Linked DNA regions of Homo sapiens: all the other regions are linked to region 1. The links are contacts of gene promoters, found by promoter capture Hi-C in blood cells and fetal thymus (Javierre and others, 2016). All regions are on one chromosome and are shown on one strand. The core of a region is centred on a gene start or on the middle of the fragment in contact, and the rest is flanking DNA. Distances in the headings are between cores, read along the strand shown.

Region 1 (4,347 bases), core at 933-3,432:
CTCCCCGGCCCGAGCCTCTTCTCTGCTCACCCTGCATGTTATTGTCGGCTTTGCCACAGGTCACCCATTTGCCCCCCTGGAAGCGCCAGTGGTTGGGGTCCGCCAGCACCACCTCTACGAACACATTGTAGTGGGCAGTGGGATTGAGTCCGTTTATGTTGAAGCTCAAGAAAGGAAACATGCGCCTGTGCAAGGGAATAGAATCAGAAAAATCGATTTTAATTGGGATGTCCTAGAACAGGCCCAGGCCCCAGCGGGTTCCCCAGACACCTGGGATAGGGTCGGAACACATTTAAAAGTTTGCAGTGAACAGAATGCTGGTAGATCAAGTGGTCTGAAACTATGTAAAATATTTTTGAGTTGGCAACTCTTGGAACCTTTCCGTCTTTTCAAAAAAAAAAAAAAAAAAAAAAAAAAAAAAAAAAAAAAAAGCTTGCCCCAACATCGGTATATTCCAAATTCGCGCGTGCTTCCGAAGGCTCATATTCTCGGCCCTTTCAGACGCTCTTAAAATTTTTCTCCTAGAATGTTAAAAACTACTAATTTTTAAATGCACCATTTTGAAAAGTACCAGAGAACAATATTAGGTTATTCTTGTTAAAAATATATATTAAAACTTTAGGCTAAAAGTCCCCTTTGAGTGCCCCTCTCTCAGCACCCACCCCTCCCTTTCCCCAGAAGTAGCCAGTGTTAGCAGTTGGATGTATATCAGAACTTTCTCGCGCACCGAACCCGAGCCAGGTCTGGCTCCAGGGCAGATCTAACCACCTACTCCGACCGAGCTTCCGAGGCCGGCGCTCTAGCCTTCATGCCCACCTCCCGGAGACGCCCCGTGGAGACCCTGGCGCCTAAAACTGCGGGAGCCCATCTACTGCGCTCAGGTGGCCAGCTCTTGAGCCTTCCCTATCCGTGGCTCCTTGCCGGCATGCAGGCATGCACAAGCATACCGCCGAGCAGGAGGATCTAACGAATCCAGCTTGTGGACATGCCCTAATTTCCATTTCCGCCTCCTCCAGGTCTGTTCAGGTGAGGATGATGGGAGGGAAAAGCGGTGTACAGCCGTAACATTGGCACCCTGCAAGAGCCGCCGGGGCACTGACACAGAGGGACACCGCATTGGAGATGCGGTGTCTACGGAGATTTATTGCGCGCGGTGAAACACTCTAAGCACCGCGCGGAACAACTGGGTTCAGCTCCCTCATCCCGGACCTTCCCCAGGACCACACGTCACCCTTTATCCCCGAACCCAGGGGCCCCTCCACGCTGCGCTCACCTGCCCTGTTTCGTAATGATCATCTCAGTTTGGTGGCGGTGGAATTTGAGCCACAGAGGCCGGTTGCACAGGTAGACGTGGGCACGGAAGCCAGAACCTGGAACCCCCAGGCCCCCCAGTCCTCCGCAAGATCCCGCCGCTGCGGCTCCAGGGTACGGCCCGTAGAGCGGAGCCCCCTGGCTGTACTGATAGGTGCCCGGGCCGCCGCCCCCGCCGCTGCTACCGCCCGCGCCACTGCCCGCACCGGCTCCTGGGCCGAACTGCGCCCTCCCGGGTGGGCACACAGCCGCGGGGAAGCCGCCGGGGGGCAGCATGGAGCCGTAGGGGTAGCGCGCCCCGTTAGGAGCCGGGTACACAGGTCCGTGGGGCGCCCCAGCCGCCGCCTGGTACGGGAAGAGTGAGCAGGGCGCAGCCAGCTCCGACCCCTGAGGACCGGGGGACTGGAGGTAGTACCGCTCGGAGCTCAGGCTGTCCATGGAGTAGCGCGCAGTGGCCGCAGCCGCGGCGGCGGCGGCGGCGGCGGCTGCAGCGGCGGAGGGCAGCTCCTCCTCCCCGCAGGGGGAGCCCTTGCGGCCGTCCGGGGGCCCCGGCTTGGCCACTGCCGCAGCGCTGGCAAATGCGTCCCCGGCGTCGGTGTCACTAAGCATGGCCGCGGGGGCCCCTGCGCTGGCGGCTGCGGGCTCCCCGCTCACCGCCTCGCAGGAGAGACTGCCGGAAAACTTCTTGGACGCTTTGTCTAAGTCCAACTTCTGAGGAGAGGGGGCCGCGCTGGGGAGGTGGCCAGCGCTCCCGCCGCTGCCGCCTCGCGCACTCTCCAGCGGGTAGAAGTGCGCGCCAGGCAGGTTCACTGAGCTCACCAAGAGCTGCTCCCCTAACTGCATGCTTTGCAAAGCGCAGACGGCAGCTGGCTGCTTCCTCTCCTCCGGTGGCCTTATTATAAAGGCAGGATGGGGGAGCCAGCGCCCTCTTCCGAGGGGAAGGTAACTTCCCCTTCCTCCCGCGCCGGGGCTACCCACCTGCCGACTCGCGGGCCGCTACTGCGCGTACTGGCGCGCCCTGAATCCAGCGTCCTTTCCGGAAGGAAAGCGCCGTGAGTTGGAAAGCAGGAGGTGGAAACTAACCCAGAAGCCCTCTCCTTTTCCTTCCTCGTACCTCTTGCTCCTCAGGACCCCCACCCTCCTCCCAGGCTCACACGCTGGAAGAAGGTGACTTAGATCTTTGTCCCCATCCACCCACTAGCCCGCGCCTTTCTGCCCTTTTTCAATTGCCAAAGCATCGGTCAAGTTGACCACTTGGAAACTTATGGGCTGTCACTAGCTGCTTTATATATTTGCGGCCAGGGAGGGGCTTCCCGGCCTCACAGCCCGGAGACCCTCCTATTGGCTGGTGGAGGTGACACTAATTCAATTAGGCATTTACTAATTGGATCAAGTCGCCTGTGACTTTCTTTTCCTTTTTTTTTTTTTTTTTTTTTTTTTTTTTTTGAGACTGCGTCCCGCTGTGATAATCAATCCTGGTGTCTGTAATTTCGCCGGAATTTAGGGGGACAAAGTTTGGGGTCTCCATAGCGGTGTCCACCCTTGGCGCATTAGTCATCTCAGCCCTCCGCTGGAGGAATGAGATGGCTGGAGCAGATTTTAGAGGCCAGAGAGAGAAAGACTCTTCAAGCTGATAGCTTGCAGGGAAGCGCCCGTCCCGGAGGCTGGGGAAACTGGGGCAAGTTGGAGACAGGCCCAAGGAAGTCTCTTTCCTCGTCGGAAGCTGTAACTTCAAAGCACACCTTCCTCTTGTCGAAGGCAAACTCCCTGGCCTTCAACGCACAGAACCACTTTTTGTTTGTTCCCATCCTTTTACCCAGTGGGAAAGGTTTGTAGAGAGGAAACTCGCGCTAAGCTTTTGGGATTCCGGGGACGGCCAGAGCACATTGCCATCCTGGAGGACCTAAGCTCTCAGCTTCTAAATCAGAAGCTTGGACAGGGTACTGGGGACAGGACAAGAGTGAAACTAAGCGAGCTAACACCAACTTCATACTCACGCCAACACAACTGCTTTCGGGGAGACAGTCACTTTTATTCCCCACAATTTAAAATCCTTTCTGCTCAGTTTTCCTGATCCCGGATTCCGTCCCTTCACCACCATCTTCAGTTAGGCCTGACACCAAGAAACAAAGCTTCCCTAACAGCCCCACAGTTAGGATTCCCTGCGCCTCTGCTCTGCGGCAAATACAGAAGGTAGAATAATTAGTGAAATAATCAGTTTGATATTGAATTAAACTCCAGCTGCTTGTTTCTTCGCTGCGTTTCCTCAGATAGATTCAAGAGCGGGGCCGTCATATTTTATCGTTTCATTATTACGGAAGCGGGGGGCACGTTTCGTTGCGGATAAGGAGAAGCCTGAATATTCGCTGTTAATAAGCAATTACAGACGCCGCCAGTAATCGCTCCGGGAGCGCATTTTCCGGCTGAGATGTCGGGACTCTGCTTCCCCAACCGAACGCGATCACACGGGAAACTCTTCGCCCACAACAGATGAGATGGCCAAAGGATTGCTGAGTGCGCACACGCAAGTGTAGAACAGTGCGAAGCTTTCCAACCCAGTTTTCCAACCACAGCAGCACCAACATCGGCATGTCTGGGGTCTCCGAGAACGAGGTCCTTAATGCACTTAGACTCTCCAGGGCATTTATCACGGTTTTTTTTTTCTTTTTTGATGTGTGTGTTCGCGCGCTCGCGCGCTCGCGTGTGTGTGGTGGTGAAACCCAGGAGTGCGCGAAGATTTTCAGGGTCAAGGCACAGCCACAGGGGAGGGGGCAAGTTGAGACTAGTGGGCTGGGGCGGTGGCCTTGTAGGTCCTGGGACAGAGTGGCCAGGAGCAGATCGCCAGAAAGCTGGTACTGAGCGCGTTCTGCCCTGCGCTTCCTGCGTTTTGTGTCATCAGTATAGTTAGTGTTTGGCACGGCTGTTTTGATCACTACATTGTCCATGCCTTCCTCCCCTGCTTTAGTGTTATTTTGACCCAAGGAAGTCTAGAACATTGATTGTTCAAGTAGTATAGCTCTGTGAATACCTCATGAC
Region 2 (4,347 bases), core at 802-3,301, 500 kb after region 1:
ATCAACTCCCATGCCAATGTCTAACATATAAGACTTATTCAATATTGAGCGTAGTTTTCAACAGACATAGAGAATTTACATATTCAAATAAATCCAGACTTTCAAAGTACTTTTTTTCTTTCTGTTTATTTTGTTGTTGTTGTTGTTATTAATATCAACAAAAATGAGCTTAAACAAAGTGGTAACACTATCTTTTAAAATTATTTTTATTTATTTATTATTATTATTTTTTGAGTTGGAGTCTCACTGTATCATCCAGGCTGGAGTGCAGTGGCGTGATCCTGGCTCACTGCAACCTCTGCCTCCTTGGTTCTAGTGATTCTCCAGCCTCAGCCTCCCAAGTAGCTGGGATTGCAGGTGGGTGCCACCATGCCCAGCTAATTTTTGTATTTTTAGTAGAGACAGGGATTCACTATGTTGGTCAGGCTGGTCACAAACTCCTGACTTCAAATGATCTGCCCACCTTGGCTTCCCAAAGTGCTGGGATTACAGGCATGAGCCACAGTGCCTGGCCTCAAGCTATCGTTTTATTCCATTGCTTAAAAATGGGAATTCCTCAGCATGAAACATACACAAACCAGTTATAATGATCCCAAGAATGCCTATTAGGAATTCTGGGTTCTAGGCTTGACTTTGTCACAGACTACATTTCCACTGGGTAAGGCATTTAGGATCTACGTACCACTCCACTTTTAAGTCCTGTAGTTTCTTCCTACTGTTTTACTTTAATGTATATGGTCACCAAACTCAGCTATGGGCCATGAACACAGACTGAGATGCCTCACATGTACATGGAGAGACTTAGTAGGCAACATGGTGCTACTTTGTATTTGTGGAAATAGTTGGTCTTTAAAGAAGGGGTATGTAATCATGATGAAGTGTCCTGGAAGAAAACAAAGTATCTCAAAAATGTTTTGGAGCTATTTCATTCTTCCTTTTAAGAGCCACCACTTTTCTGAAACTTTCTGTAAATGCAATAAATTGAGGGTCCAGAAGGATAGTGATAAGTAAGAAGGAATAAGATTATAAAATAAAGTTATGCCACATGTAGGCCTGTTGGGCCTGTAAGTTTGGAAAATCTGGAATCATTGAAAGGTTTTGGCAAGTAATAACATCATGAGATGAAAAAGGAGTTTAAAGGGTTTAATCTGGCTGGGCATAGAAGGAATTGGAGAAAGAAAGCCTAAAGGTCTGAAATAGTTGGGAGGCTACAAAAATAGTCCAAGTGGAAAGGGGTGTGGTCCGCACAAAAACATTGACTGTGAGAAAATAAAAATATATGGTATTAGAGAAGGTTACGCAACATGATTTGGATTTAGGGAGTGAAGTGCAGAACTTAGGTTCAAAGATAATTGAGGTTTAAAATATGAGTTGCGTTGAGAATATTGAGAGAAATATGGATGACAGAGAGTAAGACTTTTTTCAATGTGCTAAATTTGAGGTATCAATACAACATTTAAATTATTCAGTAAAGAGCTAGAGATGTAAACTTAAAATTGAGAGAAATCAAAATTCTAGTGTTATTTGGGAAACCTCCACATAAAATGCAACAGTTGCAGTCCCCAAGATGAATCAATCTAAGAGAAAGACCACAGAGAAGGTCCAATTTCTCAAGATAAAACACAGTAGAATGGTCAATGTTTAAAAATGAAAAAGGGTGACTCAGAGAGTAAAAAACAAAACACGAAAACAAACAAACAAAAACAGAATTCATGGTAGAAGTAGGTGAGTCTAGTTCAGAGGAACAAAAAGGTTTTCAAAAAGCCCAGGCTTGGTGGTGGTGCATGCCTGTAATCCCAGTTAATCAGGAGGTTGAGGTTGGAGAATTGCTTGTGCCCAGGAGGTCAAGGCTGCAGTAAGTGATGTTCATACCACTAGCCTCTAGCCTGAGCGACAGAGTGAGAGCCTTTCTCAAAAAAAAATTAATAAATAAAAAATAAAAAAAAGAGAAAGAAAGAAAGGAAGAACCTTAAGCTCCCTATATAACTGAGAAATACCATAATACCTGGGAGTAAGGACTTTCTAAGTGAATTTATTTGGTCCAAGTACAGTTAAAACTTGTAGTTTGAAACATGATGCAGTGGCTTAGCTGTCATCAGTAACATCTAGTTCACTAGAAGTTGACAGTTTTTCTTTGTTGTTTTTAAGTTATTTAGCTTATAGGGGAAATATACTATCATTTATACTTAAACCTGACCTACATATTAAAAATAACCTACTAGTTCAATAAGGTGTATTTCAACCTGAAAGTAAATAATGTATGCAATCTTCATGGCAAGCAATTTATATAATTGGAACACTTTCACTATAATTAGTGAAGAGTTGAGTTATTCTTCTTTTCTGAGAACTCATCTGCTGCTGCCCTCTTAATGCTAAGTTGAAGAGGCTGTCATTAGCAATATTTCACAGGTGGGTTGTGATTAAAATTTATTTATTTATTTTTGTATGCCCAGACTTTTTTCCCTTTTATGATTTCAGAGTAATAAGTAGCTTAAACCAGAAATATAAAGCCATACCTATTGTCTCCTGCAAGCCATGAGTCGAAAAATGAATTGAAGAATTATTCAACAATAAATCAAGGTCAGGAAAATGTGTTGAAGAAGAGCATTAGGGAAAAGGGAAAAAGGAGGGAAGGGAGGGAGTCTCAAGCAGGGGCTTTCCTCCAGATGACACTAACCGTAGCTGGATAGGCATTCATCTAGTGGTTATAGCTGATTTCAAAATTCAGGAATCAATGAGCCAAATCAGATCAAGCAAAGTGGTTGTGCTATTTTGGTAGGAAGTGGAGGTCCAAGAGGCAAGTGAACGGAAAGCTAGAGAACCTAGTTTGAACCTCAAGAAGCAAAGGTATAAGCCAGAGAAAAGGCTGGACAGTGCTAGACAAAAGAATGATCAGCAAAGCCTGGGACAGAAGTCAGCTGCATAGGCATGTTGAATGTAAGAGCTGATGAATAACGCAGTAGCTGAAAGGAGTTGAAATGCTCCTTGGTAGAGTTTTTAGTCAGATTCTAACAGAGTGAAAGGAACTTTAGAAGATGTCAGAGTGATCATATATCTCATACATGATTGAACCCTTTTACAAATAATTAAGTTAAATTAACTTTTAATTAAATACTAACGTAATATAGGCCAAGGACCTATTCTTTCCAGACAGTATGTGAATCATCAGAAATACAAAAGTGAGGTATGATCCCTATTGTTAAACCTCATAGTCTAATGAAAGAGAAAGCCTTGAAAACAATCTAAATAAAGCATTAATATAAAACATTGATACGAACACAGTGTGGGATTATCATTAGACTACCCTAAGAAAGTAAGGGAAAACTGGAGAGAGGAGGAGTATATGAGCTGGGTAGAAAAGACACTTTGTCAGGTATGAAGGCATTCAGTACAACAGTGGCTGAAGTGCTCTAGGCGTGGAGAAAACATGGGGGTGGAGTGTGAGGCATATGATGTGAGTGGAGTGCAGATTGATAATTGGGAGAAGCAAACTAGAGCCAGACAGAGGCAAGAGCTGCAGTTAGTCTTATCCATAAGGCAGCAGTTCTCAGAGTGTGATCCCAGGTTCAGCAGTGTTAGCATCACCTGGGAACCAGTTAGATATGCAAATACTCAGGACTCAAGCCAGCGCTAGGAAATTACAAACTCTGGCGAAGTAGGTGGGGCCCAACAATCTGTGTTTTAATGATTCTTCTAGGTAATTCTGATGCACAATGAAGTTTGAAAACTACTGTGCAGGGAAAAGTGAAACCGTAGAAAGTAGTTTAGCAAGGCAATGAGAAGGTCTTATTTTCTTAGGATGAAAACTAGCCAAAGTATGGAGACTGGACTAAATGAGTGGCTGAAGACTATGGCAACTGCAAAATACAAGAAAGAGACGGTAAAATTCAAATACCTTAAATGAGAAAATATGAGTCAGAATTTGACATGGTGTGGCTAAGAAGGTACTTTATGGTCCGGCAGTGATTTGAAGTCTGTTAATTAGGGGAGCACCAAATAATCTTCTCTCGACATGTTTTTAGTCGTTGAAGCACTACTTTTTATTAAAAAAAATTTCTCATACCTTTCATTTCAACTTTTTCTATTTCTTATTTCTTACATAATTGGACACAAATGACAGCCTAACTTTAAGAAGGGGAGTTCAGGAAGCCCTGGAGAGCCCTGCAGTCCTGCCTAGGGTAGATTCCCCTAAATCTTTGTGTCTTTATAATAAGCCGTGGAAATCTATTTGTCACAGATGAAGTTATGTCCCCTGCCTTAAAGCTCACATGTTGAAGCTGTAACCCTCGATGTGACTGTGTTTGGAGACAGGGCCTGAAAAGAGGCAACTAAGGTTAGATAATGTCA
Region 3 (4,347 bases), core at 1,286-3,785, 480 kb after region 1:
GCGCCGTGCGCCCGCATTCCTCAGCCCTTGGGTGGTCGATGGGACTGGGCGCCGTGGAGCAGGGGGCGGCGCTCATCGGGGACGCTCCGCCGCACAGGAGCCCACGGAGGGGGTAGGAGGCTCAGGCATGGCGGGCTGCAGGTCCCGAGCCCTGCCCGGCGGGAAGGCAGCTAAGGCCCGGCGAGAAGTCGAGCGCAGCGCCGGTGGGCTGGTACTGCTGGGGGACCCAGTACACCGTCCGCAGCCGCTGGCCCGGGTGCTAAGCCCCTTATTGTCCGGGGCCGGCAGGGCCGGCTGGCGGCTCCGAGTGCGGGACCCGCCAAGCCCACGCCCACCCGGAACTCCAGCTGGCCCGCAAGCGCCAGCGCGCAGCCCCAGTTCCCGCTCACGCCTCTCCCTCCACACCTCCCTGCAAGCTGAGGGAGCCGGCTCCGGCCTTGGCCAGCCCAGAAACGGGCTCCCACAGTGCAGCGGTGGGCTGAAGGGCTTCTCAAGTGCCGCCAAAGTGGGAGCCCAGGCAGAGGAGGCGCCAAGAGCAAGCGAGGGCTGTGAGGACTGCCAGCACGCTGTCAACTCTCAGTTTGTTTAGGTAAGCTTTTCTTTTCTTTTTTTTTTTTTCTTTTTGGAGACCAAGTCTTGCTCTGTCACCAGGCTGGAGTGCAGCGGTGCAATCTCGGCTCACTGCAACCTCCACCTCCCGGGTTCAAGCGATTCCCCTGCCTCAGCCTCCCGAGTAGCTGGGACTACAAGCACACACCACCACGCCCAGCTAATTTTTTTTGTATTTCAGTAGAGACCGGGTTTCACCATGTTGGCCAGGATGGTCTTGATCTCCTGACCTTGTGATCTGCCCACCTCAGCCTAGGTAAGCTTTTCTTGATAGAGATGTGTCCAAGCACCTCTAGGATAATTATAGACCTAAATCTTATTAATAGCCTGCAGATTTCTGTAAGACTTAGCCTGGCCTTTCTGTCCTGCCAATCTGCCATAAATGCTCCTTTGCTCTAACGCTTCAGTCACAGTGGCCTCATTCTGTTTCTCCAGTGAGAGAAGCTCCCTCAATTTCAGGATTTTGATCAATGCTTTCCCCTCTGCCTGCCACTCTGTAGTAGACATAATAATAGCCTGCAAAGAAGTCCATGTCCTAATCTTCAAAATCTGTGACTATGTTACTTCATGTGACAAAGGGACTTTAAAATATGATTAAGCATCCTGAAATGGGAAGTTTATCTTGGATTATTCAGGTGGGGCCAATGTAACCACCAGAGTCCTTATGAGAGGGAGGCAGGAGAATTAGAGTCAGTAAAGAAGATATGATCACAGAAGTAGTGGTCAGAGTGTTGCCATCACTAGAAGAGAGACTTTAGCCCTGGGATGTGAGCAGTCTCTAGAAGCTGAAAAAACAAGGAAACAGATTCTCTCCTAGAGCCCCCAGAAAGAATGCAGCCCTGCTGATCCATTTTAGAATCTAAACTCCATAACTGTAAGATAATAAATTTGTATTCATTTATGCCACTACGTTTGTGATAATTTGTTACAGCAGCAATAGAAACAAAAACACTCTATTTCACCCATCTCCCCTCTTCATTTTCCCTCTTACTAGTCTTTTAGACTAATAAGACTAAATATCTCTTCCTCAAGGACACTACCTTTATCACATAAACTCACCAAGAAATGCCCCTGTTACATTTTCAAAGCATTCCATACTTTCCCTTCATGATACTCAACAATACTGTTTGATTATTTAATTAATATCTTTGTAACCTACCAGACCACAATTTCCATGAGGGTAGAGTCTATTATGTTTTTTTCTCATCATTATATTCCAGGCATCTCACACAGTAATATCACAAGCAGTCAATAAAGTGTTGTTTAATGAATAATTAAATAAGCAAAGTAATTAATATAGGATCTGAAAATGATTTGATAGCTCTAAGGCATGTAAAGATTATTGTTATAACTAACTGGTTAGCCCTCCAAACGAGAATCAATGCTATATACCAAGGGTACCCTAGGAGGGCAGGGCCAAGATGGCTGACTAGAAGCAGCCTCTGACCATCAGAGGCTCCCATTGAAAAGAACCATAATACTGTGTGAATCCCGCACTGTCAACCAAGGTATCCAGGTTCTCCCAACAGGAATGATTAGGCAGCTGCTGTGATCCACAGAGAGGAAAAAAGAGCAGTGTGGTGTGGCAGCCCACCTGAGAGCCACACAGGTCAGGGGAGCCCTTACCCCCCAGCTAAGGGAGGTGGTGAGTGAGCATGCTACCCAGCCAGGGAAACTGTGCTTTTTATATAGAACTGTGTAACCCCTGGATCAGAAGATCCCACTTGCAAACCCATGCCATTGGGGCCTAGGGTCCCAACTCTGGAGCCATGCAGATTCTCAACAGCCTCTAAACTAGAATATGCTTAAGCCTGCTGAGTTCACAGCGGGGAGGGGGCAACCAGTACCACATCTGTGGCTTCCTGCTCTCTAAGCCATTTCAGCTTCTTGGGGAAGGGACAGCAGCCAGCACTGGGACTCATAACTACCTAACATGATAAGCTCCCTGCACTGGGGAAAGGCAGCATGCATCTCTATAGCTCCAGGCCACACTTTTCCTCTGTTGGAGCCAGTGAGGCTGGACAACTTGGTCCCAAGAGGTGTCCCCCACAGCCCAACATACCAGCTGTGGCAGACTGTGGCCAGAATGCCTCTTTAGGACTGACCCTGACCCATCCTTCCACACTGGAATGGACCTCCCTGCAAGAAATCTAACAACTCCAGCCAGAGGCTCAGGGACAGAACCCTTATCTCCCTGGGCCTGAGCCCCTAGTGGGAGGGGCAGCTGCAGTCTCTGTGGACCAGCAGACTTAGCCTTTCCTCCTCGTAGTTCTGAGGAATCCAGGCAGCCCAGACAAGTGGGTTCCCTCCAGAGAAACACACTCCCTCCACCAAGGGACAGTCAAAGTGCTTCGTTAAATAGGTCCTGTTCCCTATGCCACCTGACCGGGTGAGACCCTCCAACAGGAGTTGTCAGACACCCTATACAGGAACAATCCTACTGGCATCAGATTGGTGCCTCTCAAGGTCAGAGATTCCAGAAGAAGGGGAAGGCACCCATCTTTGCTCTTCTCCAGCCTCGAGTGACATCTCCAGGTGTGGGAGCAAATCAGACGAATAGGGCCTGAAGTGAACCCCCTGCAAATTTTGGCAGCCCTACAGAAGAGGGACCTGACCATTGAAAGGAAAACAAACAAACAGAAAGCAATAACAACAGCATCATCAACAACAAAAACGTCCCCACAAAAAACCCATCCAAGAGTCATCAGTCCTAAAGATCGAAACTGACAAACTCATGAAGATGAGAATCAATGAAAAACTGCTGAAAACCCAAAAGACTCTTCACCTCCAAAAGATCTCAGTACCTGGCCAGCAAGGGCACAGAACTGGATGGAGGATGAGATGGATGAATTGACAGAAGCAGGCTTCAGAAGATGGGTAATTAAAAACTCCACTGAACTAAAAGAGCATGTTCTATCCCAATGAAAACAAGCTAAGAACTTTGATAAAATGTAAGAGGAGCTGCTAACTGGAATAACCACTTTAGAGAGGAACATAAATGACTTCTTGGAGCTGAAAAACACAGCACAAGAATTTTGTGAAGCATACACAAGTATCAATAGCTGAACTGAACAAGCAGAAGAAAGGATAGCAGAGTTTGAAGACCACCTTGCCAAAATAAGGCATGCAGACAAGATTAGAAAAAAAAAAATGAAAAAGAATGAACAAAGCCTGCAAGAAATACGGGACTATGTAAAAAGACCAAACCTACAATTGATTGGAGTACCTGAAGGAGACAAGGAGAATGGTTACAAGCTGGAAAACACACTTCAGTATATTATCCAGGAGAACTTCCCCAACCTAGCAAGACAGGCCAACATGCAAATTCAGAAAATACAGAGAACACCACTAAGAGACTCCATGAGAAGATCAACCCCAAGACACATAATCATCAGATTCTCCAAGGTCGAAATGAAGGAAAAAATGTTAAGGGCAGCCAGAGAGAAAGGCCAGGTCACCTACAAAGCAAAGCCCATCAGACTAACAGTGGGTCTCTCAGCAGAAACCCTACATACCAGAAGAGATTGGGAGCCAATATTCAACATTCCTAAGGAAAAGAATTTTCAATCCAGAATTTCATATTCAGCCAAACTAAGCTTCATAAGCAAAGGAGAAATAAAATCCTTTCCAGACAAGCAAATGCTAAGGAATTTTGTCACCACCAGGCCTGCCTTCCAAAAGCTCCTGAAGAAAGCACTAAATATAAAAAATGAAAAACCAGTAGCAGCCACTGCAAAA
Region 4 (4,347 bases), core at 1,151-3,650, 460 kb after region 1:
TTTCTCTGCACATGAGATTGGTCTCCTGAATACAGCACACTGATGGGTCTTGACTCTTTATCCAATTTGCCAGTCTGTGTCTTTTAATTGGAGCATTTAGCCCATTTACATTTGAGGTTAATATTGTTATGTGTGAATTTCATCCTGTCATTATGATGTTAGCTGGTTATTTTGCTCATTATTCGATGCAGTTTCTTCCTAGCATCAATGGTCTTTACAATTTGGCATGTTTTTGCAGTGGCTGGTGCCAGTTGTTCCTTTCCATGTTTAGTGCTTCCCTTCAGGAGCTCTTGTAGGGCAGGCCTGGTGGTGACAAAATCTCTCAGCATTTGCTTGTCTGTAGAGGATTTTATTTCTCCTTCACTTATGAAGCTTAGTTTGGCTGGATATGAAATTCTGGGTTGAAAATTCTTTTCTTTAAGAATGTTAAATATTGGACCCCACTCTCTTCTGGCTTGTAGAGTTTCTGCTCAGAGATCTGCTGTTAGTCTGATGGGCTTCCCTTTGTGGGTAACCCGACCTTTCTCTCTGGCTGCCCTTAACATTTTTTCCTTCATTTCAACTTTGGTGAATCTGACAATTATATGTCTTGGAGTTGCTCCTCTCGAGGAGTATCTTTGTGGCATTCTCTGTATTTCCTGAATTTGAATGTTGGCCTGCCTTGCTAGGTTGGGGAAGTTCTCCTGGAAAATATCCTGCAGAGTGTTTTCCAACTTGGTTCCATTCTCCCAGTCACTTTCAGGTACACCAAAAAACTCACTCAAAACCACTCAACTACATGGAAACTGAACAACCTGCTCCTAAATGACTACTGAGTACAAAACGAAATGAAGGCAGAAATAAAGATGTTCTTTGAAACCGAAATGAGAACAAAGACACAACATACCAGAATCTCTGGGACACATTTAAAGCAGTGTGTAGAGGGAAATTTATAGCACTAAATGTCACAAGAGAAAGCAGGAAAGATCTAAAATTGACACGCTAACATCACAATTAAAAGAACTAGAGAAGCAAGAGCAAACATATTCAAAAGCTAGCAGAAGGCAAGAAATAACTAAGATCAGAGCAGAACTGAAGGAGATAGAGACACAAAACACCCTTCAAAAAATCAATGAATCCAGGAGCTAGTTTTTTGAAAAGATCAACAAAATTGATAGACCACTAGCAAGACTAATAAAGAAGCAAAGAGAGAAGAATCAAATAGAAACAATAAAAAATGATAAAGGGGATATCACTACCGATCCCACAGAAATACAAACTACCATCAGGGAATACTATAAATACCTCTATGCAAATAAACTAGAAAATCTAGAAGAAATGGATAAATTCCTGTACACATACACCCTCCCAAGACTAAACCAGGAAGAAGTGGAATCCTTGAATAGACCAATAACAGGCTCTGAAATTGAGACAATAATTAATAGCTTACCAACCAAAAAAAATGTCCAGGACTAGATGGATTCACAGCCAAATTCTACCAGAGGTACAATGAGGAGCTGGTACCATTTCTTCTGAAACTATTCCAATCAATAGAAAAAGAGGGAATCCTCCCTAACTCATTTTATGGGGCCAGCATCATCCTGATAACAAAGTCTGGCAGAGACACAACAAAAAATGAGAATTTTAGACCAATATCCCTGATGAACATTGATGCAAAAATCCTCAATAAAATACTGGCAAACCGAATCCAGCAGCACATCAAAAAGCTTATCCACCATGATCAAGTGGGCTTCATCCCTGGGATGCAAGGCCAATTCAACATACACAAATCAATAAACGTAATCCAGCATAGAAACAGAATCAAAAACAAAAACCACATGATTATCTCAATAGATGAAGAAAAGGCCTTTGACAAAATTCAACAGCGCTTCATGCTAAAAACTCTCAATAAATTAGGTATTGATGGGACGTATCTCAAAATAATAAGAGCTATTTATGACTAACCCACAGCCAATATCATACTGAATGGGCAAAAACTGGAAGCATTCCCTTTGAAAACTGGCACAAGATAGGGATGCCCTCTCTCACCACTGCTATTCAACATAGTGTTGGAAGTTCTGGCCAGGGCAATCAGGCAGGAGAAAGAAATAAAGGGTATTCAATTAGGAAAAGAGGAAGTCAAATTGTCCCTGTTTGCAGATGACATGATTATATGGTGGTGATTCCTCAAGGATCTAGAACTAGAAACATCATTTGACTCAGCCATCCCATTACTGGGTATATACCCAAAGGATTACAAATCATGCTGCTATAAAGACACATGCACACGTATGTTTATTGCAGCACTATTCACAATAATAAAGACTTGGAACAAACCCAAATGTCCATCAATGATAGACTGGATTAAGAAAATGTGGCACATATATACCATGCAATACTATGCAGCCATAAAAAAGGATGAGTTCATGTCCTTTGTAGAGAGATAGATGAAGCTGGAAGCCATCATTCTCTGCAAACTATCACAAGGACAAAAAAAACAAACTGCATATTCTCACTCATAGGTGGAAATTGAACAATGAGAACACTTGGACACAGGAAGAGGAACATTACACATTGGGGCCTGTTGTGGGGTGGGGGGAGGGGGAAGGGACAGCATTAGGAGATATACCTAATGTAAATGTCGAATTAATGGGTGCAGCACACCAACATGGCACATGTATACATATGTAACAAACATGCACGTTGTGCACATGTACCCTAGAACTTAAAGTACAATAAAAAAAAAAAAAAAAAAGAAAAGTTGCTTTGGCTACAATTTGAAAACGTTCTGTAAGGAGGAAGGACAAGGCTAAGAGCTTACACTTTCATTAATTCTGTTTAAGGCCCAGATACCCAAATAACTTTTTTGATTTCTCACAGAACTCCAGAATCTTGGAATTTGGAAATAATTTTGGAGTTTACTTTCTCTATTCTCCTATATCCTGTAAGAATGCCTCATACAATAGCTGATGCCTATAACTGGCTTTAATGAAACAGAAATCAGTGTCAGATTTTAAAGAGAAAACTTCCACTGGATAAAAAGGCAGGAGACTTAAAATAAAAAGAGCACGGTCATTGGAGAAAGACAGAGCCAGATGTGTGTCCTGACTGGTTAGAAGCTTTTTAACCTTAGGCAAATTTCTTAACCATTCTGAATATTCAATTTGCCATTGTCAAAATCAGGCACACCAAAGGAAACTTTTATATAGTTTCATAATACGGAAAGAAGAAAATTATTGAAGGTCTCTAGCAATCACTGCAATAATGTTTTGCAGGCCATATGAATTTTTTGTCCTGAAAAATCTAGACAGGGCTGACTGTTGATGAAATATACATTCGCATGGTCTCCTTTACTGTTACAACTAGGATAAGGCAACCCAAATCTGTGTGATTTACCACTGGTGCCAAGAGACTAGACCACAATCATCAACACCTCAAGGGGCCTCCTTTTTCAGAAAAATATACTAGCTCTAGTAAGTCACCATGAAGATATTATAGACACTTATATTAGTTTTCTAGAGCTGCCATAACAAAGTACCACAAACGAAGTGGCTTAAACAACTAAATTTATTGTCTCATAGTTCTGGAGGCTAGAAGTCTAAGATCAAGGTGTTGGCAGAGTTGGTTCCTTCTGAGGGCTGTGAGAAAGGATCTGTTCGGTGCCTCTTTCCTAACTCCTGGTGGTTTGCATCTTTGGCATCCATTGGCTTATACATGCATTGCCCCAATCTTTGTTTTCATGTTCACATGATGTTCTCCCTGTGTTTGTGTCTGTCTCTTCAAACGGAATTATTTTCGAATGGACACCAATCATATTGAATTATGGGCCCACTTTACTCGGTATGACCTCATTTTACCTTAATAAATTACATCTGCAATGACCCTATTCCCAAATAAGGTTACATCTTATTTGGAAGTACTGGGAGTTAGGACTTCAATATATGAATTAGGGGGCAGGAGAAAATTCAATCCATAACAATGCTGAAATAAATCATCTTTATTTTACGTTAGTTGATGTCCCCTAACCCCCAAAAAACATTCTGTTTAAACTTTTCTAGTGAAGAAAAAAACATTTTTAGAATTACTTAGGACATTCTGTTTTAAAAATATTTTCTAAAAGCATCTACCTTGTTAAAAAATATATATACAACATTATAAAAAGGAATTAAAAATGGAGATGAATTTGATGCAGACCTCCCCACAGGGCTACCACTGCCACCACTTGTTCTCAACATTGACATTTGAATCTCAAGGGCAATCACAAACATGGAACTCATTCTGAAAATCTCTGTTGCCCTGTTGGAACAACTGTTCGTGTTTATAAGGCACATGGTATGATGAAGATTATATTTATTTTATATTAGTCTG
Region 5 (4,347 bases), core at 1,069-3,568, 440 kb after region 1:
CTATTCCCATTAAAAAGTGAGCAAAGGGCATGATAGATGTTTTTCAAAAGAAGATATACAAATAACCAACAACTATTTGAAAACTGCTCATCATCCCTAATCATCAGAGAAATGCAAATTAAAACCACAATGAGATATCATCTTACTCCAATCAGAATGGCTATTATTAAAAAGACAAAAATAACAGGTGTTGGTGAGGATGTGTAGAAAAGGAAACTCTTATACAGTATTGGTAAGAATGTAAAATATGCATACATTTAATATATGTATATATGTGTATATATATATATGTATATGTGTATATATATATATACACAATGGAATACTATTCAGCCATTAAAGTAATGAAATCATGTCTTTTGCAGCCACATGGATGGAACTGGTGGTTGTTATACGAAGTGAAATAAGCCAGACACAAAAAGACAACTATTGCATGTTCTCATTCGTAAATGTTTGCTCAAAAACGTATTCACATGGATGTAGAGAGTGGAATGATAGATAACGGAGACTTAGAAGCGTGAGGAGGGTGGAAGAGGGGAGGATGATGAGAAATTGCTTAATGGGTACAGAATACATTATTCAGGTGATTAATACCCTAAAAGCCCTGACTTGACCACTACTCAATCTGTGCATGTAACAAAACCGCACACGTATCCTATAAATTTGTATAAATAAATAGGAAATAAAAGCCACAGTCATTCACTTACATATTGTTTATAGCTGCTTTTGCACTACAATGACAGAATTTTTTTTTTTTTTTTTTTTTTTTTTGAGACGGAGTCTCGCTCTGTCGCCCAGGCTGGAGTGCAGTGGCGCGATCTCGGCTCATTGCAAGCTCCACCTCCCGGGTTCACGCCATTCTCCTGCCTCAGCCTCCAGAGTAGCTGGGACTACAGGCACCTGCCACCACGCCCGGCTAATTTTTTGCATTTTTCAGTAGAGATGGGGTTTCACCATGTTAGCCAGGATGGTCTAGATCTCCTGACCTCGTGATCTGGCTACCTCGGCCTCCCAAAGTGCTGGGATTACAGGCGTGAGCCACCACGCCCAGCCACAATGACAGAATTGAGTAGTTACAACAGAGACCTTGTTGCTCAAGCAGCCTAAAATGTTTACTCTCTGTTCCTTTAGAGAAAAACCTGTGGTATAAAAAAATTAGTTTTTGAAAGATGATGCTGAAAGGAATTGTGACTCAGTCCCTACCAGGGAGAAAGACATTTCAAGGTAATACAGTTTTAGCTATATACAGATCTCAGTGAACTCTTTGCAATGTCTAGTAAACTCCTCAATAAAAAGGAAAAAAATTAAGATGTAATGTTATAAGGAAAAGATATATGCCTAAAGGAAAATAGTTCATTGTTAGAAAAACAGCAATAACAACAGAGATGCTGTTTCCAGTTTGAGAGAACTTGTGAAGTATTTCCAATAATTTTCCAAGGAAATTATTCCAAACCCACATTATTGTCAAGTGTGCTGCCCTGAATTATCGGAGAGTTTGCTTTTGATGTTAAACTAGCGGTTTTTTGGTGATTTGGTGGACAATTCTCAGAATCACAATTATATTAGGAAACCAAGGAATAGAAGAAAGTAGTGAGCAGAGAATGAAAAGTGTAGAGGGGGCACACAGCTGGTTGTCCTTGGGCAAATGAGTTCACCAACAACTCTGAGCCTTCATTACTGCACATGTGAGATGGGAGATAACATTACATAAAAGCTTAAAGAAGAAAATGTATGGGAAAGTGTCTGGCATAATTAAATAAATATATCTGGCTAGACTAAGTGGAACACTACAATTGATAACGAATGGTTTTGTAATAATCATGGATAGTGACAGAGTAAACTCTCCATAAATAATAGTGTTTATTTTTACAGTAAGAATATGTATAAATGTCCATACAGGGTTGCTTTTCCTCAACCAGCCATAGAAGCAAAAGTATTGTACTGTTTCTTATATGATGTGGGTAGTAACCGAGCATTGTCTCACAGACATGACAACTTGCCATTTTTTAGTACTAATTACCATGATATCCTCTCTGTGAAACTGTACTATCGCTTCTGTCTAAATGATTAATTTTATGAATCCTCCTACTCCCCAATAACCTGGAATTAGTGTTACATTGTCCCCCGATCTCCAAAGTCACGTAAGAAAATACTGACCATGTGAAATTAAATAAACAAGTAGTATTACCTACTTCACAGTCTTTCCTGCTCTTCCTTTAAGAAAATCTCTGTTCTGTTTGACAATGACTCCTCTAGAAGACCAAGGAATTGCACTTAAATGGCATTTTTCTTTGCCCTTCTACAGGGAGCAAGATTTCATTGGTTCATTGATGGTGCACAATGTGCCAGAAAGTCTTCTAAGTGCACAATACTGAATGTTCATATTTCTTTTTTCCTTTTCTTTTTCTTTTTCTTTTGAGAGGGAGTCTTGCTCTGTCGCCCAGGCTGGAGTGCAGTGGCATGATCTCGGCTCGCTGCAACCTCCACCTCCCAGGTTTAAGCAATTCTCCTGCCTCAGCCTCCCTAGTAGCTGGGATTACAGGCACATGCCACCACACCTGGCTATTTTTTTTGTTTTTGGTAAAGATGGGGTTTCACCGTGTTAGCCAGGATGGTCTCAATCTCCTGAACCTCGTGATCTGCCCACCTTGGCCTCCCAAAGTGCTGGGATTACAGGCGTGAGCCACCATGCCTGGCCAAATATTCATTTTTCTTAAGGTAATGCAAGCTGCTGTAATGAATAAAACTCCAGATCTCATTGGTTTAAACAAACAAACATGTATTTCAAATGAATGTGTATTTCTGGCTTCTGTAAAGTCTAATCACGGGAAGGAGAAGGGGGCACTCTGCTCCACACGCTAATTCAGGGATCAGGATGATAGAGGCCTTGCCAACTTCTATACATACATTCCAAAAAGGTCCTAAGCTTTGACATTCAGCTAGCAGATTAAAGATAAGATAGCAAGAAGGATGGTCCAGAGATATTATAGGACAGGTCTGGAAAGGGGTATACCCTACTTCCATCCACTTTCCACTGGCCAGAGTTTAGCCATGTGGCTCCACTAAGATTCAGAACATGCTGAAAAATGGTGTATAGGGCTGGAAACTCCTTTCCTGCAACAATTCTATGCTGTTAAAGGGCAATATGAACTTTTGCCAAGGGCTGACCATACTGCAACCTTCCCTATAAATGTGAGGCACTATTAACAGTGACATGCATAAATATGTACATGGGATCTGAGTTCTGAAAAAAGCAAGCTTGTCAAAGAAATGCAGAAGTTCACATTTTCTATCACAAAAAGGCTCACTGAGAAATTTTAGTATGCTGTATCAAAGCTTCTGAATGCAACCCATAGGTGATTTCACACCAAAAGCAGAAGAGGACAGGTAGGCATAAAACAAAGGTTAATACGGGTTTTTCTTTTTTTTAGTGTAACTTTATTTTACCACTTTTATTAGATCATTTGGTTGTTTTCTCAAAATTTTTCCTTCTTGGATTTATTACTATAAACTCAGAGGATGCTTGAATGAATAAATAAATAAATCTCTGTTGGAGATTTGCTTGATGAGCATCTGTCACGGTGTTTAATTATATATTAACAGTAACCCAAAAAAAGTCTTAATGGCTCTTTCAATTTTGAACTGTTCATCATGAAATTGTGTTGATCATGCGTTGTTGTACTATGAAGTTTTTGTCAGGAAAAAAAAAGAAGTTTCTGATATCACAGGAATTCTGGGTCCTAATTAAGCAATCAGATTCAACAAAGTGTATATTAATTTAAGATCACATACCTCAGGGGCATTGAAAAGCTGAAGGCTGTTCTCTGAAAGTCATTTACAATTTGTAGTGTCACAATATCGCTGTAAAGTGTCCTAAATTGTAACTGAAAGTATCTCCAGAGGTAAGCAAAGGGAGAATATTTTAATCCTGTCACTGTAGGTCACTCAGTCTGAAAGAAATTTACTTCTTGATCCATATATAATTTTATTGTGTAATAGTTCTGTCTGCTTTTACCTAACAATGTAAGTATGTAATTATTTATTGATGTCCCTTTTACGTTACATTATGCCAGGTAATGTTATTTGTCAGCTATAATGATGAAATACAAAAAGATATAATATTTAGAAAAGAACACATTTACTGACAGACGGTATGTTTCAACAGGAGCAATAATGTTCCTTCAGGGTCTTCAGAAATATGTGAGGGCATATTTGGTTGTCCCAATTATTGGAAGACACTACCTAGTGGGCAGTGTCCAGGAATGTGAGACATCCTGCAATGTGCAGAACACTTCTATGGAATGCAGAATTGTCCAGGAGTTCACATAGCTTTAGCATCCCTCCAGA
Region 6 (4,347 bases), core at 579-3,078, 440 kb before region 1:
AGGCTGGAAGCTCACCTCAACAGTCTCTCTTACAATGAGGAGTAGTCACATGACTTGGTTTCAGTCAACACAATATAAGAAGGCTAATGGAGACCTTCTTTGGAAGATTTTCTTTAACAGTAAAAGCAGATGAGACAGCATTTGGAGAAGACAATTTTTTTTTCTAGATTTTACCCAAGCAGCCACCTTGCCTCCCATCTTTGAATTTGGTAATAATGTCTGGAGCTCTGGCAACCATCCTGTGACTATGAGATGACAAACATATGGAGAAGTCAATCTGCTGGGGATACTGGAAAGAAAGGACAGAAAGGCCTAGATCACCCTAAGCTGCTGAACCCACCCTGGAACTACTCACTCTCAGACCCCTTGTTGTGAGATAACTAAATATCCTCATGGTTTAAGCCATCGTTAGTCTGGCTTTTTGCACCTGAACATATCCTAACTGATACATGTCCTAAACTGAGTATCTGGGTCCAGTCTTTCCCCAGCATGCTCCCTCACCTGCCATTTTAATAATCCTTCTACCTCCCAGATCTGATCATATAATTTCTAGTCTGAAAAATCTCTGAGGATAAGTCTTTGACCAAGCTCCCCACCCACCAAGGCTCCTTCATCTCTTGCCACATCAAACACCTTGATAGTTCCTAGACACACTATACTCCTTCATGTCTCTATCCTCTGCATGTGCTATGCCTCTGCATTAACTGCTCTTACCCTTCCTGCTTAACTCTGCACCAAAAGATCCCTAAGGCACAGTTAGTCACATTTTCCCCAGTGCTTATATAGCTGTGATAGACTATATAACTATTCACTCATATTCTCTCGGAGGAGGAATGCATCCACATCCTGCTACACCTGACTTTCTTTGACCAATGAAATCTGAGTAGAAGTAACATGTGTTACTTTGGGACAGAAGTTTTAAGAGCCACGGCATGGTTTCCCATGTTCTGTCTTTCCTGCCTCTGGGATGTAGAAGCAAGTACAGAGGAAGCTCCCTTATTGACACATAATGGACATGTAGCATTAGCAGGATAGGAGTCTTGTTAAGTCAGAGGCAGACAAAATTTTCTGTAAAGACCAGATAGTAAACATTTTAGGCTTTGCCTAAATGGAACAAATATGGTCTTTGTCATGTATTCTTCCTTTTTCAACAAGCATTTAAAAATATAAAAACCAGTCTTAACTCACAGGACATATAATAATAGGTCACAACTTGATTTGTCCCACAGGCTGTATTTTGCCACTGTTTTAGGCTGTATTTTGCCACTGTTTTAAGCTGTTGAGAATTTCAGGTTACTTATTACATGTTACAGTATTTTGCATATACATTCTAGCCTTCATCACTCTGTAACAGAATTATAAGCTTCATTAAGACAGGGGTTATGTCCTTCATGCTTGCTGTGCTCACTTGTAGGATGTGTCAGCTAGGAAGGTAATTGCTGAGTGAATAACAGACGTTTTCCCCATAGGACTGTGAGCTCAGGGAGCAGAAACCATGGCTTTTCATCTTATATCTATCCCAGCAATGCCTGACCTGTGATAACATTTGAAGAGCCTTGGAGCCTTTGATAAACTTTACACTGAATCAGGTTTTTTCTTGTTGTTATCATCAGAGCAGGTGCCAAATATCACTTGAGAAACAGAAATTCACATAGCCTGTTTGTTTGCAAGATGAACATGTGACCTTCTGTGTCATGTACTAAAGTCCATGCCTGAAATCTATTAACTATAATTAAATGAGTTTTGTTTTTTCTTTTCCTTTTTTATTTGAAAGCAGAGGAGGCAAGCGGACATGGAAGGTTTACATTAAAATAAGGGTTTTTGAAAAGGTCAAGAAATCTGGAATGGTGGGTTCAAGGGTAAGTTCAGTTTTACCAAATTCCCTCAAGAGTCATTTTGTAATGTGATGGCACAATATGGACCTTATTTGGCAAGTGACAGTATTTAGGGCAAATGTTGACTGTGTCTCACCCCATGTACCACTGAATCGGGGTCTGTTTCCTTGGATGGTTTCAAAGGCTGCAAATAAATGGAGAACAAGACCTGAACATGTGTCATGGCACATGCCATCAAAAGATAGTCTTTCAAATGGAAATATATTTAGACTTAAAAATATATAGCATTTGCAAAACCAAGCATAGCAGAATATGTGAGTACTTTCTATTCTGCTTCCTCATCAAAGCAAACTCCTGCCAGCATGCTTACTATAAATAAGTGCAAACCAACCTCAATCTTAAAACATTTAATTCACCTATATTGAGAAAAATGAGAAGATGAAAATTTTAGTTTTCTGAAAGCTTTTTTTTCTGATCACATTTTCAGTACACTTTGTCTCATGCATCTTAAACATCATTTGGCAATTCTGTGTTTCTTTTCTGGAAGTAAATAAACCTTCTAGCGCAAGCAAAGAGAAAAATAAAACATAACAAGGCTGCCCCTCTGTGGTGACATGCTTTCACACCCACAGCAGCCAGCCCATTCTCACAGGCTCTACTAATTGCAGCTGCATTCCACTTCCTAAAATATGGAAATTTTATACACTTACTTTTAAATTAATGCTGCAGGGTTTTAATTTAACCATAATCCCTCTTAAAGATAAGAGACTAATGGACATATTTACATTATATCAATAGAGATAGACACTGAAAAATATTTCAGCACTATTATATTTAAAGTATTTTTTAAAGAATGACATCAAATCTCTGTGGATTATCTTTTCAGTCATAAAATCATTTTATAGTCACTGAAAATAATGGGAGTACATGAATGCCCTAACCACACAATTGCTTTAGTGAAGAGAAACTAGACTAGGCTAGGATCCCATTCTGAGCTCACTAGCTTCTGTGTCTGAAGGCTGCTAGCCTCACCAGTATGCCACCAACCTGTGCTGCTTCTTTATTTGACACTAGGAAAATACTGCTTCACTTAAAGCTAAACGGCCTTAAAATCTGGAAGTAGGCCGAGCGCGGTGGCTCACGCCTGTAATCCCAGCACTTTGGGAGGCCGAGGCGGGCGGATCATGAGGTCAACAGATCGAGACCATCCTGGCCAACATGGTGAAACCCCGTCTCTCCTAAAATACAAAAATTGGCTGGGTGTTGTGGGTTAAAAGGTGAATTGACCATATGTTTTTATCTCCTCTAAATCTCAAACCCCCTAAAATGGAAAAAAAAAAAAAAAAAAAAAAAAGCTGGGAGAGGGGATATTCTTTGGAATGTTACTAACCCACAGGAACAATGAGAATGGGCTTGGCAACAACAGAGGATGAGATATTCCAATAAATGTGTGGCAGATGGAAAGCAGGTAGAAGATGGTGTCAGACTCAGCAGAGCAAAAATGCTACCCATGCATCTGAGGAGGAAGGCTTAAGGGAGCCCATTTAACCCTGCAGAGCCCAGGGTGCCATCCAAGGGAGAAGAGAAGCAGAAAGCTCAATACATAGAATTGAGATCAAGTTCCCAGGTGCCCTCCCACATACACACAGCCAGTAAATCAAGCACCCTCTGCCACTAACAGAAAATATTCATTTTTCAAAGAAATAAACCAGCAAGGAACCAAGCACGGTAGAATTCGACGAAAATTTATAAACTGAATGTGGTTCCTTGAGCCCCGTTTGTTGACGCTGCTCAGAATGACAGCAAACAGGCGCACATACCCCCAGGCAAGATACTTGAAGAGTATTCTCTAGAAAAAACAAAGTTTAGATACTGATTTTGGAGTCTTCAAAGGAAAATTTCCATTTTATTATAATGAAGGGCACCAGATGACAGCCTCAACTGGAACTCGCAGTGCTTCTGACAGCCTTTTTCATGCCTTCCTCAAAATTATTAGAGACCAGCCCAGGGTCACAAGACAGTTGAGAAAAGCCCCCAGCCAGAAAGACAGATAATACTAAGCAGGAATAAAACATGTATATATGCTACTGTTTAGTTATATATGTTTTATATGTGTGTGTGTATATGTGTGTGTATATGTACATATGGTGTGTGTGTGTGTGTGTGTGTGTGTATATGTATATGCATATATATATATACCTTCAGAAGATGCAGAAACAATTCAGGATGCTAAAGAAAAAAAAGTCTATATTACCCTGAGAAAGAATAAAAACAGGGTTCCATAAAAATAAAACACAAAATAAGACAAAAATTTTTGAAATTAAAATATGATAATATAAATTTAATATTCAATGGAATGGAAAAGAAAGTTGAAGAAATAATTATAACAAAGAGACAAACATTAAAAACTAAGATAATTACTTTTTAAATTAGGAGATCATTTTGTACATATGGTATCTAAGACTAAAAAGATTCTAAAAATGAAAACAGAGAGAGCAGAGGGGAGAAAAGT
Region 7 (4,347 bases), core at 774-3,273, 420 kb before region 1:
CACAACCATAAAGGGAGAAATTATATTCCAGTTATTAATTTATGTCTTTATTATAATCTTGACATCTTTCTAGATTTTTTAATTGAAATATACACATGAAGGAATGAACAAATAATAATACCTTACAGCCACTTTTCTATTATCTAGTAAATATATAATGTACTGATCTTTACTGTGTGCAGGCATTCATATTATAACTGCAAAGAGCTTTATTTGCCTTATTGCATCTAATCTCTGTAACAACTCTGTGAAATTAGTCTATAATTTCCTTGTTTTATACATGAGAAAACCAATACTTAGAGTGGATACATTATTTTTTTAGAAGCCAAGCCAAGAAGTAATAATTCCAGGAATTGAACCTCAATCTGGCCAACTTCAGATGCCCTGTTCTATCAACTACCCCCTGATCTGCTGAGTTTCTCTTATGTCCTAATTTAATCATTGATGAGCTGATCCCTTACTAACATGTACGGATCTTGAAGTTGGATATTGTAATGACACAACCAAAAATGTTTTCTCTGTAAAATTCACTAAGTAGGAGGTAACTTTTGTGATAGAAACCCATACAAGGGTTGTACATATACATGTGTATGTTTATTAATATAGATCTATTAATTTATATTTATGTGTATATATACATACACACACAAACATGTATATATAGCTGTACATATAGTAGATTAATTAGTGGATTATACTTTGCAAAATCAGTTTCTTGGCAATAAATATTTTGTTTGCTGTGTCTCAATCATCATTTTTAACTTAATAATCTGATGCATAGTCTTAATCAAAATGATTGCTGTCCTTACCTTATGGTATTCTATACACCCAGAATTAATGCAATTCAGAGTATCCCTTTTAGAAAGAAAAAATAAAAGGGACCGCACATAACATAATGAAGAAACATCAATTAACCACATGTCAGTCCTTTTTAAGTCAAATGAGTTAAAGGAGGAAGGAGAAGAATATAAAGTGGAACTTTATTAGTTAAACGAGAAATGTTAAAATAGTTTTAAAATCACATGATGGGAATCCCAAAACCTATGTTCTGGGATACAGACTGCACCACAAGGTGAGTTGATTATGAATGGTTATGGAGACCTGACCTTGAGAAGGAGTGCTCTCACCTGAACCACCTGGTGGGCATTGGTGTCATTGAGCACCAGCTCAGTGAGGGCAGCACAGCAGGCTGGAATGACAACAATCAAATGCATAGTGTGCATCATTACAATAAATATACTATCACATAAATACTCTTACTCCACAGGGTATTTTTATTATTTTGCTATTTTTATTAGCAAAGTAACTTCTCAAGAAACACTAATTTTCCTTTTGGCACAGCTCTGGAAGAAAAGAAGTTGACTTGTAATGGCTTCTAATTCTCCTCCCCATGTAATTCATGTGCGTGTCTATTCCACTGCAACCATTTATTGAGCACTTTCTTCGTACCAGGAGGCAAGTATTGCATCTGTCCATTTCATTGTAATCCCCAGTGCCCAAAACATGCCTGGCACTTAGCAGGTGCTCAACAAATATATCTATAATGGTTGATAAATAAAAGAATGCTTTAAATATATTATTCAACTCAATCCTTATAATAAGAGTATGCACTGTGATTACCACTGTTACTGGTGAGAAAACAGTTTCAAAGAGTTACTAGACTAGGCCACACAACCAGTAAGTGGAAATGACCAGGAGTGCAGCCCCAGTCTGCCAGACGTTAAATCCCCAGCCCTAAGCAGCACCACTCTTGCCTCCTGACAGCCACTGTGGCAGCCTTTGGTGGTATTTTGCACTGAGATACTTGTGCTCTCAGAAGTATGCCAGACTCTATAGCACAGAGCTCCTATAAAGGATAATTCCATTTTACTGTGCTGAAGATTTTACATATATTCCCACATAATTCTCACAATGATCTTCTATCATTGATACCATGATTATCATCACCATTTTACATAAGCAAAACTGGAGCTTGGAGAAATTAAGGAACTTTCCCAAGGCCATATAGCCATCAATGAGGGTGGAGCCAAAACTCAGACCCTACTCTTAACCGTTTATGTTTTTAATTTTTATTTTTCCATTTTTATTTAGGTATTAACATGGTTTGGCTGTGTCCCCACCCAAATCTCATCATGAATTGTAATCCCCACAATTCCCACATGTCATAGGAGGAACCCGGTGTGAAGTGATTGAATTATGGGGGTGGGTCTTTCCTGCACTGTTCTTGTGATAGTGAATGAGTCTCACAAGATCTGATGGTTTTAAAAATGGGAGTTTCCTTGCACAAGCCCTCTCTTTGCCTGCTGCCATCCACTTAAGATATGACTTGCTCCTCCTTGCCTTCCGCCATGATTGTGAGGCCTCCCCAGCCATGTGGAACTGTAAGTCCATTAAACCCCTTTCTTTTGGAAATTGCCCAGTCTCAGGTATGTCTTTATCAGCAGCATGAAAATGGACTAATAGAGTAAATTGGTACCAGTAGAGTCGGGCTTTGCTGAAAAGATAACAGAAATTGTGAAAGTGACTTTGGAACTGGGTAACAAGCAGAGCTTGGAACAATTTGGAGGGCTCACAAGAAGACAGGAAAATGTGGGAAAGTTTGGAACTCCCTAGAGGCTTGTTGAATGGCTTTGACCAAATGCTGATAATGATATGGACAATGAAATCCAGGCCGAGGTGGTCTCAGATGGAGATGAGGAAATTGTTGGTAACTGGAGCCAAGGTGACTCTTGCTATGTTTTAGCAAAGAGATTGGTGGCATTTTGCCCCTGCCCTAGAGATCTGTGGAACTTTGAACTTGAGAGAAATGATTTAGGGTACCTGGCAGAAGAAATTTCTAAGCAGCAAAGCATTCAAGGGGTGACTTGAATGCTATTAAAGGCATTGAGTTTTAAAAGAGGAACACAGCATAAAAGTTTGGAAAATTTGCCATCTGACAATGCAATAGAAAAGAAAATCTAATTTTCTGAAAAGAAATTCAAGCCTGCTGCAGAAATTTGCATAAGTAATGAGGAGCCAAATGTTAACCCCCAAAACAATGGAGAAAATTTCTCCAGGGTGTGTCAGAGACCTTTGTGGCAGTCCCTCCCATCACAGGCCTGGAGGTTTCAGAGGGAAAAACGGTTTCATGGACTGGACCCAGGGTCCCTCTGCTGTGCGCAGTCTAGGGACTTGGTGCCCTGCATCCCAGCCACTTCAGTCATGACTAAAAGGGGCCAAGGTACAGCTTAGGCTGTTGCTTCAGAGGGTGGAAGCCCCAAGCCTTGGCAGCTTCCATGTGGTGTTGAGTCTGCTTGTACACAAAAGTCAAGAATTAGGGTTTGGGAACCTCTGCCTAGATTTCAGAGGATGTATGGAAATGCCTGGATGCCCAGGCAGAAGTTTGCTGCAGGGGCGGGGCTCTCATGGAGAACATCTGCTAGGGCAGTTCAGAAGGGAAATGTGGGGTCAGAGCCCCCACACAGAGTCCCTGCTGGGGTACTGCCTAGTGGAGCTGTAAGAAGCAGGCCACTGTCCTCCAGTAGAATGGCAGATCCACTGACAAGTGTGCACAGTGTACCTGGAAAAGCCAAAGAAACTCAACATCAACCCATGAAAGCAGCCGAGAGGGAAGCTGTACCTCACATAGCCACAGGGGCGGAGCTGCCCAAGATCATGGGAACCCACTTATAGCATCAGCGTGACCCAGATGCAAGACATGGAGTCAAAGGAGATCATTTTGGAGCTTTAAGATTTGACTGCCCTGCTGGATTCTGGACTTGCTTGGGGCCTGTAGCCCCCCTTTGTTTTGGCCAATTTCTCCCATTTGGAACAGCTGTATTTATCCAATGTCTGTACCCCATTGTATCTAGGAAGTAACTGACTTGCTTTTGATTTTACAGGCTCACAGGCAAAAGGGACTTGCCTTGTCTCAGATGAGATGTTGGACTGTGGACTTCTGAGTTAATGCTGAAATGAGTTAAGACTTTGGGGGACTGTTGGGAAGGCATGACTGGTTTTGAAATGTGAGGACATACGATTTGGGAGGGGCCGGGAGCAAAATGATATGGTTTGACTGTGTCCCCACCCAAATCTCAATCTTGAATTGTAACTCCCACAATTTTCATGTGTCATGGGAGGAACCCAGTGAGAGGTGATTGAATTATGGGGGTGGGTCTTTCCTGTGCTGTTCTCATGATAGTGAATGAGTCTCACTTGAGATCTGATTGTTTTTAAAATGTTTTTTTTGTAAAACCATTGAAAGTGCATGGAGTTTCCCTGCACAAGCCCTCTCTTGCCTGCCATCATCCACGTAAGATGTGACTTGCTTCTCCTTGCCTTCCACCATGATTGTGAGGCTTCCCCAAC

What was found. Contacts are between HindIII fragments. The CHiCAGO score rates a contact against its expected background, and 5 or more counts as called.
Region 2: a contact is called between a fragment that was not itself captured here and the fragment with the promoter of EOMES in region 1, in 12 of 17 cell types (total CD8 T cells, naive CD8 T cells, activated CD4 T cells and 9 more). The highest score is 27.1, in total CD8 T cells.
Region 3: a contact is called between a fragment that was not itself captured here and the fragment with the promoter of EOMES in region 1, in 7 of 17 cell types (naive CD8 T cells, non-activated CD4 T cells, total CD8 T cells and 4 more). The highest score is 16.3, in naive CD8 T cells.
Region 4: a fragment that was not itself captured here is called in contact with the fragment with the promoter of EOMES in region 1 in 6 of 17 cell types (naive CD8 T cells, naive CD4 T cells, non-activated CD4 T cells and 3 more); the score reaches 10.9 in naive CD8 T cells.
Region 5: a contact is called between a fragment that was not itself captured here and the fragment with the promoter of EOMES in region 1, in 7 of 17 cell types (naive CD8 T cells, total CD8 T cells, activated CD4 T cells and 4 more). The highest score is 20.5, in naive CD8 T cells.
Region 6: a fragment that was not itself captured here is called in contact with the fragment with the promoter of EOMES in region 1 in 1 of 17 cell types (M0 macrophages); the score reaches 6.6 in M0 macrophages.
Region 7: a contact is called between a fragment that was not itself captured here and the fragment with the promoter of EOMES in region 1, in 3 of 17 cell types (M1 macrophages, M0 macrophages and monocytes). The highest score is 6.0, in M1 macrophages.

The regions. Positions count from the first base shown.
Region 1 is chr3:27,720,141-27,724,487 of GRCh38, forward strand. It overlaps EOMES (eomesodermin), which reads right to left and starts at 2,183. Exons shown (of 6, transcript NM_001278182.2): 1 at 1,274-2,183; 2 at 31-185. The coding sequence starts at 2,154. RefSeq lists a silencer at 1,609-1,818. The HindIII fragment of the contact is 2,734 bases long and covers 431-3,164 here.
Region 2 is chr3:28,224,890-28,229,236 of GRCh38, forward strand. No RefSeq gene overlaps it. Among named protein-coding and RNA genes, the nearest start is that of CMC1, 15 kb to the right of the region's middle. The HindIII fragment of the contact is 9,028 bases long and covers 1-4,347 here.
Region 3 is chr3:28,200,400-28,204,746 of GRCh38, forward strand. No RefSeq gene overlaps it. Among named protein-coding and RNA genes, the nearest start is that of CMC1, 39 kb to the right of the region's middle. The HindIII fragment of the contact is 3,335 bases long and covers 869-4,203 here.
Region 4 is chr3:28,181,781-28,186,127 of GRCh38, forward strand. No RefSeq gene overlaps it. Among named protein-coding and RNA genes, the nearest start is that of CMC1, 58 kb to the right of the region's middle. The HindIII fragment of the contact is 1,392 bases long and covers 1,705-3,096 here.
Region 5 is chr3:28,164,131-28,168,477 of GRCh38, forward strand. No RefSeq gene overlaps it. Among named protein-coding and RNA genes, the nearest start is that of CMC1, 75 kb to the right of the region's middle. The HindIII fragment of the contact is 1,212 bases long and covers 1,713-2,924 here.
Region 6 is chr3:27,276,931-27,281,277 of GRCh38, forward strand. All of the region lies in intron 22 of NEK10 (NIMA related kinase 10), which reads right to left. Among named protein-coding and RNA genes, the nearest start is that of NEK10, 90 kb to the right of the region's middle. The HindIII fragment of the contact is 934 bases long and covers 1,362-2,295 here.
Region 7 is chr3:27,296,052-27,300,398 of GRCh38, forward strand. NEK10 (NIMA related kinase 10) reads right to left here. Exons shown (of 36, transcript NM_001394966.1): 14 at 1,128-1,189. Among named protein-coding and RNA genes, the nearest start is that of NEK10, 71 kb to the right of the region's middle. The HindIII fragment of the contact is 8,587 bases long and covers 1-4,347 here.